2 separate regions of the Homo sapiens genome follow, and region 2 is linked to region 1. The links are contacts of gene promoters, found by promoter capture Hi-C in blood cells and fetal thymus (Javierre and others, 2016). All regions are on one chromosome and are shown on one strand. Each heading gives the region's core, a stretch centred on a gene start or on the middle of the fragment in contact. The rest is flanking DNA. Distances are from core to core; before and after follow the strand shown. Region 1 overlaps SIN3A (SIN3 transcription regulator family member A). Region 2 holds the start of CSK (C-terminal Src kinase).

Evidence for each region. The method cuts DNA at HindIII sites, captures the fragments that hold promoters and counts their contacts. A CHiCAGO score of 5 or more calls a contact.
Region 2: a contact is called between the fragment with the promoter of CSK here and a fragment that was not itself captured in region 1, in 3 of 17 cell types (neutrophils, non-activated CD4 T cells and activated CD4 T cells). The highest score is 6.8, in neutrophils.

What each region holds. Positions count from the first base shown.
Region 1 is chr15:75,444,742-75,450,743 of GRCh38, reverse strand. The region is part of intron 1 of SIN3A (SIN3 transcription regulator family member A); the gene reads left to right. Among named protein-coding and RNA genes, the nearest start is that of SIN3A, 3.9 kb to the left of the region's middle. RefSeq lists enhancers at 160-289, 1-636. The HindIII fragment of the contact is 2,544 bases long and covers 2,103-4,646 here.
Region 2 is chr15:74,778,683-74,784,684 of GRCh38, reverse strand. CSK (C-terminal Src kinase) reads right to left here and starts at 2,605. Exons shown (of 13, transcript NM_004383.3): 1 at 1,965-2,605. RefSeq lists enhancers at 246-305, 316-445, 1,328-1,903, 2,946-3,015, 3,036-3,155 and silencers at 2,136-2,395, 2,506-2,725, 5,763-6,002. The HindIII fragment of the contact is 10,374 bases long and covers 1-6,002 here.

The DNA.
Region 1 (6,002 bases), core at 2,125-4,624:
CCGACTGGGAGCTGTGGAGGTGTCAGGACTTACTCTTGTGGCTGGGTCATGCCTTCTGCCTGGGGGCACAAGGGCCCTGTGCCGGAGCTGCTTTCTCCGCTTTGCTCCATGCAGCGTGTCTGGCACCGTGCAGCCAGGAGAGTGGGAGCATGGTCACCCCCACTCCCCTCTTGGTTGTAACTATTGGGGCGAAGTGCCCAAGGTCCTCTTGTAGGAGCGTGCGTGGCTGGTGCTGGAACCCTAGATCCGCGGTGGTGATGGTAGGGGAGGGGCAGGGAGTCATCAGAGACTAGAAATGTGGCGGAGGGAAAACCTTCCCTGGGGTTCCCTTGATGTTCAGTTACCGTGGCTGTACGGGGCGGGGCTTCCTTTGAGCCAATGGGTGGTGGGTAGTAGACTTGGCGTCTGTTTCGGTGCGTTAGGACTTTAAACGAAGTTAGCCTTGAAAAGGCAGTGGAAGCTCCTCCTCTTTACAAGGCTGAGATTTATAACAGGAAAGTTTGGATTTACATTTTAATCTCAAAACTGGTCTGTTTATAAAGTAGGGTTTGTTTTTTTTTTTTAAGAACTCAGACTTTGAATAAAATACTCCGATATCTCTGACAGTTGTATTTTTGAATGCTTTCATTGTGCACATGGTTCTGCTATATAAACTTAGTTTCCTGGACGGGCGCGGTGGCTCATGCCTGTAATCCTAGCACTTTGGGAGGCCGAGGCAGGTGGATCACTTGAGGTCAGGAGTTCGAGACCAGCCAGGCTTACATGGCGAAACCCTGTTTCTACTAAAAATACAAAAAAAAGCTGGGCGTGGTGGCAAGCGCCTGTAATCCCAGCTACTGGGGAGGCTGAGGCAGGAGAATCACTTGAACCCGGGAGGCGAGGGTGCAGTGAGCCGAGATGGTGCCATTGCACTGTAGCCTGGGCGACAGGAGCAAAACTCCGCCTCAAAAAACAACCAAAAAAACTTGGTTTCCTAAAGAATTTGCTATTTAGGTAACTATAGGTGAAAAGTCTTTTCTTTTTTATTTTATGTACTTATGTTAGACCATCTAGACCACTTTCTATTTATACTCTACATAGTACAGTGTTGTTGCCCTTTTTATTTCAGAGGAGGGTGGAATTGTGGATCAGGGTAGCCTTCTGTATGTGACTTCTGTAGCGTTGCCCTCCAGCCTGTATTGGAGAGTTGCCTTAGGGCATTTCAGATTTAGATAGCAGAACCACATTAGATGAGGTTTTTGCTTTCACTTGATACATTATCTTTTCCTATTGAGAGAAATTATTTCAATGTTTTTCACATTTTTCATGAGAAAAATAAACATGGAACCAATGTTTATTTATGCAGTAATGTCTAAATGAGCCTCTGGTTAATTATCTGAAGTGAAATTCTAGATTTGTGCTTTGGTTAGTAGGGCCTGAGTGGTACCCTGTGCTATATTTATGTGAAAAGGGTAGGTGGGTCCTACCTTCTCTGCTAAGGAAGTTGCAAAAGCAATAGCATTTTAGTTTAGCAAATGATGGCTGTAATAGAATTGGTGGGGAGACAAAAAATCCAGGTGGTTTTTTCTGATGCCATAAACTGAGAGAGATAGTGGAGAACGATTGACCATTGAGGAAAATTTGGGCTACATATATAGTTCCCATGATTTGCAGTGCTGTATACTGGGGAACACAGAAGAGTCTATAAGGATTCAAGTAAGAACCTGGTTTTGCTGTATTAGGAACATTTTCATAAATGCTTCATAATCTCCAGATAATTATTTTATATACTATAATTTTGTTCAGAGATAAATAGCTTAGAAAGATTGGCACTTCGTAATTAAGAGGGTTTTAATAATTTACATACAGAGAAAGACTTTTTTTCTTTTTTAAGGAAGGAGGTGTGTAGTAATTTGACAAGATTCCTGGTGAAGTATAATTCTTTTTACATCTTCAGTGGGAGCAGACAAGACACTGGAGAGCTGTGCATGGCAGATGTTAGTACCTGGGAATTTTAACTGGAATTAAGAGGTTATATCCCTGGCATTCAGTAGTTTAGCATAGTGCTTTTCATGGCTTTCTCTCTTTTCTGGGCAATCCACCAGCCAAGAGTTTGTTAAGCTTTACTTTCTGTAGGCCTTTAAAAAAATAAATAGTATATGCTTTTTCAAAATACACCTTCCTCGCCCCTTGAAAAATAAAAGCTGATATTTATTGAGCACTTACTGTGTCACAGATACTGTGTTAGGCACTAGACTTTTTTTTTTTTTTGAGATGGAGTCCTGCTCTGTCTCCCAGGCTGGAGTGCAGTGGTGCAATCTCAGCTCACTGCAACTTCCGCCTCCCGGGTTCTAGCGATTGTCCTGCCTCAGCCTCCACGAAGAAGAAGCTGGGGCGCCACCACACGCCTGGCTAAGTTTTGTACTTTTGGTAGAGGCAGGGTTTCACCATGTTGATCAGGTTGGTCGCAGACTCCTGACCTCGTGATCCGCCCGCCTCAGCCTCCCAAAGTACTGGGATTACAGGCATGATCCACTGCACCCGGCCGCATAATGTCTTTTTTTCTCATGTCTTTTTTTTTTTTTTTTTAGACGAAGTCTCGCTCTGTCACCAGGCTGGAGTGCAGTGGCATGATCACAGCTCACTGCAGTGTTGATCTTCTGGACTTAAGCGACCCTCCTACCTTAGCCTCCCATGTAGCTGGGACTACAGGTGTGTGCCACCACGCACCTGGCTAATTTTTTTTATATTTTTATAGAGGTGAAGTCCTGCTGTGTTGCCCAGGCTGGTCTCGAACTCCTGGGCTCAAGAGGTCCTTCTGCCTCAGCCTCTCAAAAGTGCTAGGATTAAGACGTGAGTCACCGTGCCCGGTCATGGGTGGCAATTTCTACCTGATGTATTTCTTATTTGCCCCTTTTGCTTTTGTTTTCCCTACCCACTTTTTGTCTTGTATGCTTGTATGTTACCCATATTTCTCAGCATGACAGTGGACCCTTCATGAGTCTTCTTGGTGTCCTCCAGGGCTAGGCTTGCTGACATATGGGCTATTGGAGGATATGCAGGTCCACATCCTTTATTTGCAGTTCTGAAATGCAAGAGTTTTTGTTTTTTGGTAAGTCTAGTTCCACAACTAGTTTTGGGGTACAGCCTGACCTGGGCTATCCTGCATGATGCAGAAATGTGACTGCTTGATTATGGGGAGCTACTCAGCCCTAGCTGGGAGAGAGAGATGATACAGTATATGTACCATATTACCTTTCTAAAATCCAAACAATGCTGATGACTCTAACGGGGATCTCTCCCTCTACCATAGACTAATATGTTTAGTGGCCCACTCAAGGTCTCCACTCGATGTCTCCTCTTGGATAACTAAGAGACATTGTTGACTCTTCTGTGTCTTTTTCATATGTGGTCCATCAGTAAATTTTACTGCTTTATATTCAAAATACTATCCAGAATTAGACCACTTAGGATCTGCATCTCCACTGCCCTAGTCAGTGCCTGTGCATCTCTAGCTTGGATTCTATTCTCCTTGTTTTGTTACTGCGGCTCTTAAATGTGTTCTCAACATAGCAACCCAAGTGATTCTTTTGAAACCTAAGTCATACCGTGTCACTTCTCTGCTTAAAACCATCCAGTGGCTTTCCATTTCAGTCTGAGTATTAAACCTGAGTCCTTATTTAGATATGTCTGTAATGAGCTGGGCGCGGTGGCCCATGCCTGTAATACCAGCACTTTGGGAGGCTGAGGCAGGCGGATCACGAGGTCAGGAGATTGAGACCATCCTGGCTAACATGGTCTCCACTAAAAAAAATACAAAAGAGTTAGCCGGGCATGGTGGCACACGCACCTGTAGTCCCAGCTACTCGGGAGGTTGAGGCAGGAGAATGGTGTGAACCCGGGAGGTGGAGCTTGCAGTGAGCCAAGATCGTGCCACTGCACTCTAGCCTGGGCGACAGAGCGAGACTGTCTCAAAAGAAAAAAAAAAGGATATGTCTGTAATTTCACCATTTTGGGAGCTCAAGTGGGAGGATCGTTTGAGTCCAGGAGTTTGAGACCAGCTTGGGCATCATAACAAGACCCTGTCTCTATAAAAAAATTAAAAATTAGCCAAGCATGCTGGCGCGTGCCTGTAGTCCCAGTTACTTGAGAGGCTGAGGCAGGAGGATTGCTTGAGCTCAGGAGCTTGAGGCTGCAGTGAGCCATGACTGTGCCACTGCACCCCAGCCTTGACGACAAAATGAGACCCTGTGTCAAAAAATAAAAAAACACCTGTAAGAACAAATCTGATGTACCCTCTGCCTGCCACCCTTATCCTAGTACCTCTCTGACTACATTTCTGACTAGTCCTTCTTTCGTTTTTCTTCAGCTACCCAGCCTTCATGCTGTTTTGGAACATGTCAAGCACATGTGAGCCCTCACAAAGACATGAGGGTCTTTGCGGTTGCTGTCCCCTCTGCCTAGAAGGCTTCCTCCACTAATTTCTGCATGACTAGCTCCCTCACTTCCTTTACTCAGAAGTTACCTTATCAGTAGGTATTATCTGACCATTCTTATCTACAATTTCAAAAACTCTTCCTTGCCTTTTGTTCTTGATACCTGTCACTGCCTACTATTCTAAATATTATACTTTGTCTATTGTGTCATCTTTCACTAAAATATAAGCTTCTTGAGGGAAGAGATTTTTGTTTACCGTTGTATCTCCAGCTCCTAAAACACCTGGTGCATAGTATGTGCTCAGTAGATATTAGAGAATGTATACATGAATGAATGATTTGGTTTCCACCACAGACAAGACAAAGCAGTATGCTGAGCATGGTAGAGGATACATAGATGGTTAAAGATGTTATGTGCCCATGTTTGTGTGGGAGCAGAAGAGCTAATGTGATAAAAGCAGTGTGAGATGTGAGTGACACTTCCACCTGTCCTTTCAAGAACTATCTCAAGTTCTATTCTTTGTAATGCTCTATTTTCTTTTCTTTCTTTCTTTTTTTTTTTTTTTTTTCTTTTTTTTGAGACAAGGTCTCACTGTGTTGCCCAGGCTAGAGTGCAGTGGTACTATCTCGGCTCATTGCACACACACACATACACACACCCAGCTTCAAGTGATTCTCCTGCCTCAGCCTCCCGAGCAGCTGGGATTACAGGCATGCGCCACTACACCCAGCTATTTATTTATTTATTTATTTATTTTGAGACGGAGTTTTGCTCTGTCTCCCAGGCTGGAGTGCAGTGGTGCAATCTCGGCTTGGCACAATCTCAGCTCACTGCAACCTCCACCTCCTGGGTTCAAGTGATTCTTCTGCCTTAGCCTCCCGAGTAGCTGGGATTACAGGCACCCACCACCATGCCTGGCTAATTTTTTTTTTTTTTTTTTTTTTTTTGAGACAGTGTCTCGCTCTGTCGCCCAGGCTGGAGTACAGTAGCGCGATCTCAGCTCACTGCAATCTCCCCTTCCCAGGTTCAAGCAGTTCTCCTGTCTCAGCCTCCTGAGTAGCTGGGATCACAGGCGCCACCACCATGCCTGGCTAATTTTTTGTATTTTTAGTAGAGACAGGGTTTTACCACGTTGACCAGCCTTGTCTTGAACTCCTGGCCTCAGGCAATCCACCTGCCTTGGCCTCCCGAAGTGCTGGGATTACAGGCATGAGCCACTGCACCTGGCCTTATAGATATTTTGAAAGATTATATTTCTTATATTAAATAGAGATAGGGTCTTACCATGTTGCTCAGGCTGGTCTTCCTGGACTCAAGCAATCCACCTGCCTCAGACACCCAAAGTGCTGAGATTACAGGTGTTAGCCACCATGCCTGGCCTAATACTTAATTTTTAAAAAACTTTTTCTTTGGAAATAATTTTAGACTTCAAAGAGAGTTGCAAAAATAATACAAATAATAGCCCTATAATCTTCACCTAGATTCCCCAAGTGCATCTTTTAAAACCACAATACAGTGATCAAATCAGAAAATCAACATTGATAACAATTATTAATACATTTTGAATTTAACTAAATTTCTGTTCA
Region 2 (6,002 bases), core at 1,356-3,855, 670 kb after region 1:
ATTTCCAACCCTTGCCGAGGGCCACTCTGTGTGGCTCAGCCTTTTGGGGTCTGGCCCCCCTGCGGTGGTGAATGGGAACATTTTCTGCTTTTTCCTTGCCCCTGACCCAATGCAGAGAGAAGAGCAGCTGCTTCTGAGAGGGTGGAGGGCACCAAGCTCACCAATGAAAAGCACATCCCTGCACACGTGCCAGCCAGAAGCCAGACTCCTTTCTTCAAAGGCCCTGGGACCCTGGATCACACCTTCACAGCTCACAGTTGGTAAAAAAATAAAATAAAATAAAATAAAAATTAAAAAGGCTGACTGGGGTGGGAGGGAGCTAACCATGTCAGGCTCCAGCCCCAGTCCCTCAGGCTGGAAAGGAAGTTAGGGCTGGGTGTGGGGCCATGTGAGGGGAGTCTCACAGGCCCAGGACATCTGGGTCCCCTCCACTGTGCATGTCAGGACAGCCAGAAAAAAAAGTGAAAAAACAAAAAAACCCTAAATCGTGAGCAGGGACCCAGCAGGACAAAACTGCCAGCAGCTCCAAGGGAGCCCAGACACTGCTCAGCACCCACCAGGGCAATGCCTGCTCTCCTGGGCCAGAGGATCCTGCCAGGCCTCAACCTCACCCCTGCTGTCCTTGCCCTGTTCCTGCTGTGGCCACAACCAAGAAAGACACTGGAACCGCCAGGGTACTAGGAGCTTGAAACAGGCCCCCTGGGTGTCCCCACTCTCACAATGCTCCCATGTCCCCAGTCTGTAGCCTGCTGCCAGTGGAGACAGAGCTTCCACGGTTCCCATGTGACCCCATTTATATCCTGAACTTGGCTGCTCCTGTGCCAGCTGGGCCATAGGTGTGGCGAGTGCTGGGTCAGGACTGACCACCAGGTTGTTTCAACTCAGAGCCGGGGCCAGGACCGGACCTTCCTGCCACACCACACAGATGGCCATACACCACACATTCCCCACATCTCCTGCTAGCTGACCCAGCCACAGCTGGAGCCGGAAGCCCTTTCACTCCCTCCAGCCCTCTGCAGGGAAGCACGTGCTCAACCAACAAGGTCCCTCTGGGGCCGGGCTGGGGGCCTGTGTCCCCAGTGGGTGAAGGTGCCTGCCTGGTTTCCTTCCACCCACAGCCATCCAGCCCTGTATAGCTGGGGATGAAAGGACAGCCAGCCTAACTCCACTAGAGGCCTGGGGTAGCAACTTCTCCCTTTGAGCCTCGGTTCCCGGGTGTACAAAATGGGCGGGGAAGTGAACTGGTAGTTAAGCTCCAAAAAATCTGCTGGCTGGACACACCCCTTCCTGACACCTGGTCTGGGCCACAAAGAGCCTAGGAGAATGGGCTGCCCAGGGTGCCAGAAGGTGGGGGCATGGTGCTAATGCTCCGTTACCTCCCCCCGGGCAGAAGGCCTGCCCAGTTTCCCACCCAAAGATCCCTTGGCTTAGGCCTGGTCTTCTGAGAGGCCAAGGGTGACAGGCTCAGTCCTAGGACCTGGGCTTCTAACTGCTCACCCGAGGTGGCTGGGCCCTGGGCTTGCTTGCAGCCCGCAGGGTCATGGTGGGGTAATGAGGGAGGGGTCAGAACCAAGCAAGCCAGGGCACCTGCGGGGAGGCCCTGTACAGGGAAGGGCAGGGGAGTCCAGCACTCTCTCTAGGGACCTGGCCCATACGGATCCTCTTCCTCCAGACTCCAGCCACCTCCTACTCTGAGCTCCACAGAGGGGGGGACTCGGGATGACCCGAGAAGACGAGTCCGTGGAGCTGCAGGGCAGTACCTCCCTCATGCACTCCCTTCCAATTTGGGTTCTGACAGTGGCTCCTGGGAGAATTCGAACCCGTGCAAGGGAGTAAAGGAGAGAAGGGAGAAGTGGGAGAAGAGGGGAATGGGAGTGGACGCGACAGTGGCAGCAACAGAGACTAGACGCGCGACCTCCACCCTCTTCCCTCCAGGGGACACTCCGGGACGGCCAGGCACTCACCTCTCTTGGGGCACTGCGGTCCGGGCCACCTCGCCGCGGGCGGCATCAGCGGCCTGCGGGACGGTCCATGCGGTCAGGGGGGAGGGGAGGGGCGCAGGGGTCCCCAGGGGGTGCGGTACAAAGAGGTATGGGTGCAAGGAGAGGGGAGGAGGGACCGCCAGGCAGAGGCAGGGGGACGGACGCACGGCCCGGGTCGCGGAGGGAAGAAAGGCGGGGGAAGGGGGCGGGAGGGAGTCGGGGGGAGGAAACAATGTAGCCGGCGCGGCCCCGGCAGAGTTCCGCTTCCGAGCGCCGCCACTGAGGTTCGATTTTGGAACGTCGCGCTGGCTGCCGGGGGCCGCCCCGGACGCTCGATCGGGGCCGCGGGGCTCCTCGCGCTCCACGCCCCGCGGGCTCCGGCGGCCAGAGGCTGGCTGGGGCGGGAGGGACGGCGGGCCGGGTTACGGCCCCGACGGCGGCGCAGCCGGGCGGTCGCCCGGCTCGGACCCCACCCCGGCAGAAGCCCCCGGGCAAGGCGCGGGTGGGGCAGGAGCGGGAGGGCGGCAGCGGGCTCGGCGGCGGCGGCGGCCAACCTCGGCTCGCCCAGGGCTCCGCTGGGAGGAAGCTCGCAGGCCTGGCGAGAGGAAGCGCGGCCCGGATCCTCCGCCCGCGGCAGCGCGCCTGCGCGAGGGGGCCTGCCCGGCGCGCGGCGGGGCGTGGGCCGGCGGGGCGGCGCCCCCTGCCGGGCGCCGGGGGCACTGCGGGGGGTGTGTCCGCGCCCACGCCCTGCCCCCACTTGCCGCCTGGCTGCGTTGAAGGCTCCGAGGGTCTCTCCTCAGCCGGCCTGGGAGCAACCTCCCAGCCTTCTCTGGACGCAGCTTTCCCGCTGCAGAAGCGCTGGGGGCCGGGCCTGGGCCCCTCTCCTCAGGTCTGTTTGTGGAGAGTGGGCCTGATTCGCAGCAGAAAGCCTTCATTCATTCATTCACCAACATTTCCTGGCGCTGACATCGTGGCGGAGCCTGCTCTGGAGTCTATTGGCAAGACCATTTCACTACCGTCAAGGCGTTCTCGGTCGGGTGGGGGTAGGCTGACAGGCCGACAGACAACGGCAAGGAAATAATTGATCAAAGTGGAGAGGTGGTGGACACGGTTCCCAGGAGGCAGAAAGAAAACTAGGGCTAACGGGGAGACCTCACACCTCACAGAGCCGGGACCAGGCAGAGGGAACAGCATGCACAAGGGCGGGGAGTGCGGAGGGAGCTTGGTGGCTTCTGGGATCTAAATATAGCTCAGGCGGCTGCCGCTTGCAGTGTGGGTGGGGGAGAGTGGTGGGAGATGGGTTCCTGCAAACAACAGGGGCAAAAGAGATCCAAAGAGCCTCATGGGACTTTCTTGGAGTTTATGTTCAGCCTGGAGGCAATAAAGAAGTTGTCAGCAGCTCTGTGACCTTGGGCAAGTTACTTAACCTCTCTGTGCTTTAGTTTCCCCATTTGGTAAAATAGGTGATATATAATGGCACCGACTTCTTAAGTTTTTGTGGGGAGGGGAGGAAATGAGTTAATACGTTTAAAGTGCTTAGTATGCAGTAGCTGGCACGTGAGGAGCCCTCCGTTAAGCAAGGGCTGTTACATCACTGTTAACGAAAAGCAGGGAGATGACCTGCTCTGAGCCACAGGAGAGGACAGCGTGCTCAGGCATGACAGGGGTGGGAGAGTGCAGGGTGGCGGGGGAACAGAATGGGGATGCAGTGATGAGGGTGAGACCGGGGAACAGAATGGGGATACAGTGATGAGGGCGAGACCAGAGACTCCAGCGTAGGGAGGAGGTAAAGGTGGGGGACTTTCTAGGGACTAGACCCTGAAGCAAGGGTCAGGCTTGGGTGGACAGAGGGAAGAGGCACTCTTGGGGTTGGGGGGGAGGAAGTGGGGCATGCTGACAAAGTCTTGGAACACAAAATAAGCATGAAGAGGCCCGAGGGAGCGAGAAGAGGGCAAACAGCCCTGTGGGAGACGGAGCTGGGAGACAGTGTGGCTGCAGATTGTTTTAAAGAGCCTCGGATGCCAGGAGGAGTTGCCCCCAAAACCACAGGTCGGCCCTCTGACCCAGGGCACCCTTAGGCCGGTTTCCCAGCTGGAGCCAGCCCTTTGGAGAGGGATGTCCTTTGAGGAGACAGCCAGTAAGTTTCAGAGATAGGTGTGGTGTAACAGAAAAAAGATGAATTTGGGGTTCAAGTCTCCAAGTTAAATTTCAACCCGTCCACTTACTAGCTGTGTGACTTAGGGCTAGTTACCTAAGGTCTCTGAGCTGTTTCCTCTTTTGTAAGATCAGGCTCAAAATATACTTCTCTCATGATAGATAGTGCAGATTCAGCAAGATAACGGCCTGGGGGTGAGGGAGTGGAAAGGGTGCTCAGCAGAGCTGGTTTCCCTTTCTTTCCTCTGAGGTCAAGATGGAATGATAATATGGGGCCGGATGGGGGGCCGCCTCTCAGCCTACAAGAAAGCACTTCAGCAGCTCTGCAAAGCCTTCTGGGAGGGAGAAATTGACATCTCCCCTCCCCTGGCTGAATCAGCTAGCAGAATGGGAAAGAAAAGACTGGGGATTTGGGGAAAATACTCTAATCCCTGTTCCAGTTTTGTCACCAACCTTTCTTTATCCCCAAATGCACTTGACTTTTTCCCCTGGGTGTGCTGTGGCCCAGCTGTGAACTTTGGAGTCAAATAGACCAGCATTTGAATCCTGGCTCCACCTCTTCTCAGCAAAGTGAAATAAATTTTTTAATCTTCCTGTACTCCAGGCACTGGGGATAAAACCATAAACAAATCGATAAAGGGCCCCACTCCCACAGACCTGTCCTCTGGTGGAATTATTGGGCTGGGCGCCGTGGCTCACACCTATAATCCCAGCACTTTGGGAGGCCGAAGCAGGCAGATCACAAGGTCAGGAGATCGAGACCATCCTGGCTAACATGGTGAAACCCTGTCTCTACTAAAAATACAAAAAATTAGCTGGGCGTGGTGGCGGGTGCCTGTAGTCCCAGCTACTGGGGAGGCTGAAGCAGAAGAATGGTGTGAACCCAGGAGGCGGAGCTTGCAGTGAGCCGAGATCACGCCACGGCACTCCAGCTTGGGCAATAGAGCGAGACTCTGTCTCAAAAAAACAAAACAAAACAAAACAAAACAAAAAAACAAATGCTTATTGAGCACCTACTAAGTGCTAGGTGGGAAGTGCTAATTAGGGAAAGGGAATCTGGTCGGTGGGAGCAAGGGAAAGCAAAAAGAGAAATTAGATAAGCTGTGAGTCTGCCTTTCTTCATGTCTAGGACATATAGCTCTCCTGTGCAAATAATTCACAATCTTCCTGTGCCCGACTATCACCAGACTCCTGCAAGTTAGCTCACTGTACCCTTGGCAAGTTAGCTCACTGTACCCTTGGCGTTTGATACTGCACAAAAACCTCCTCAACAGATAGCATAACACTAATTCTATAAAATCTCCAACAACCTTTTGTTTCCTGGCAGTCAGCTTCTCTTCTGCCTTCTTGCAATGTATTTTCCTACTTTTTCTAATAAATCTGCCTTTATCTACAACTGTCTTAGTAAGTTTTTGTTTTGTTTTGTTTTGTTTTTTGTTTGTTTGTTTTGAGACGGAGTCTTGTTCTGTTGCCCAGGCTGGAGTGCAGTGGCATGATCTCGGCTCACCACAACCTCCCGCTCTGGCATTCAACCATTCTTCTGTCTCAGCCTCCCACGTAGCTGGTACTATAGGTGTGTGCCACCATGTTCAGCTAATTTTTGTGTTTTTAGTAGCGATGGTTTTCACCATGTTGGCCAGGCTGGGCTCAAACTCCTGACCTCAAATAATCCACCCACCTTGGCCTCCCAAAGTGCTGGGATTACGGGCGATAGCCACCACGCCCCAGGCCAGTGTTGGAGGAGTGGGGGAGGGTATTGCAGGTGGGGAGGAAGATAGTGAAAGACCCTGAGGCACAGAAAGCCTCAGTGGCTCAAGGGACAGCCAGAAGGCCAAGGTGATGAGACCGGCAAGCAGGGGAGAGTGG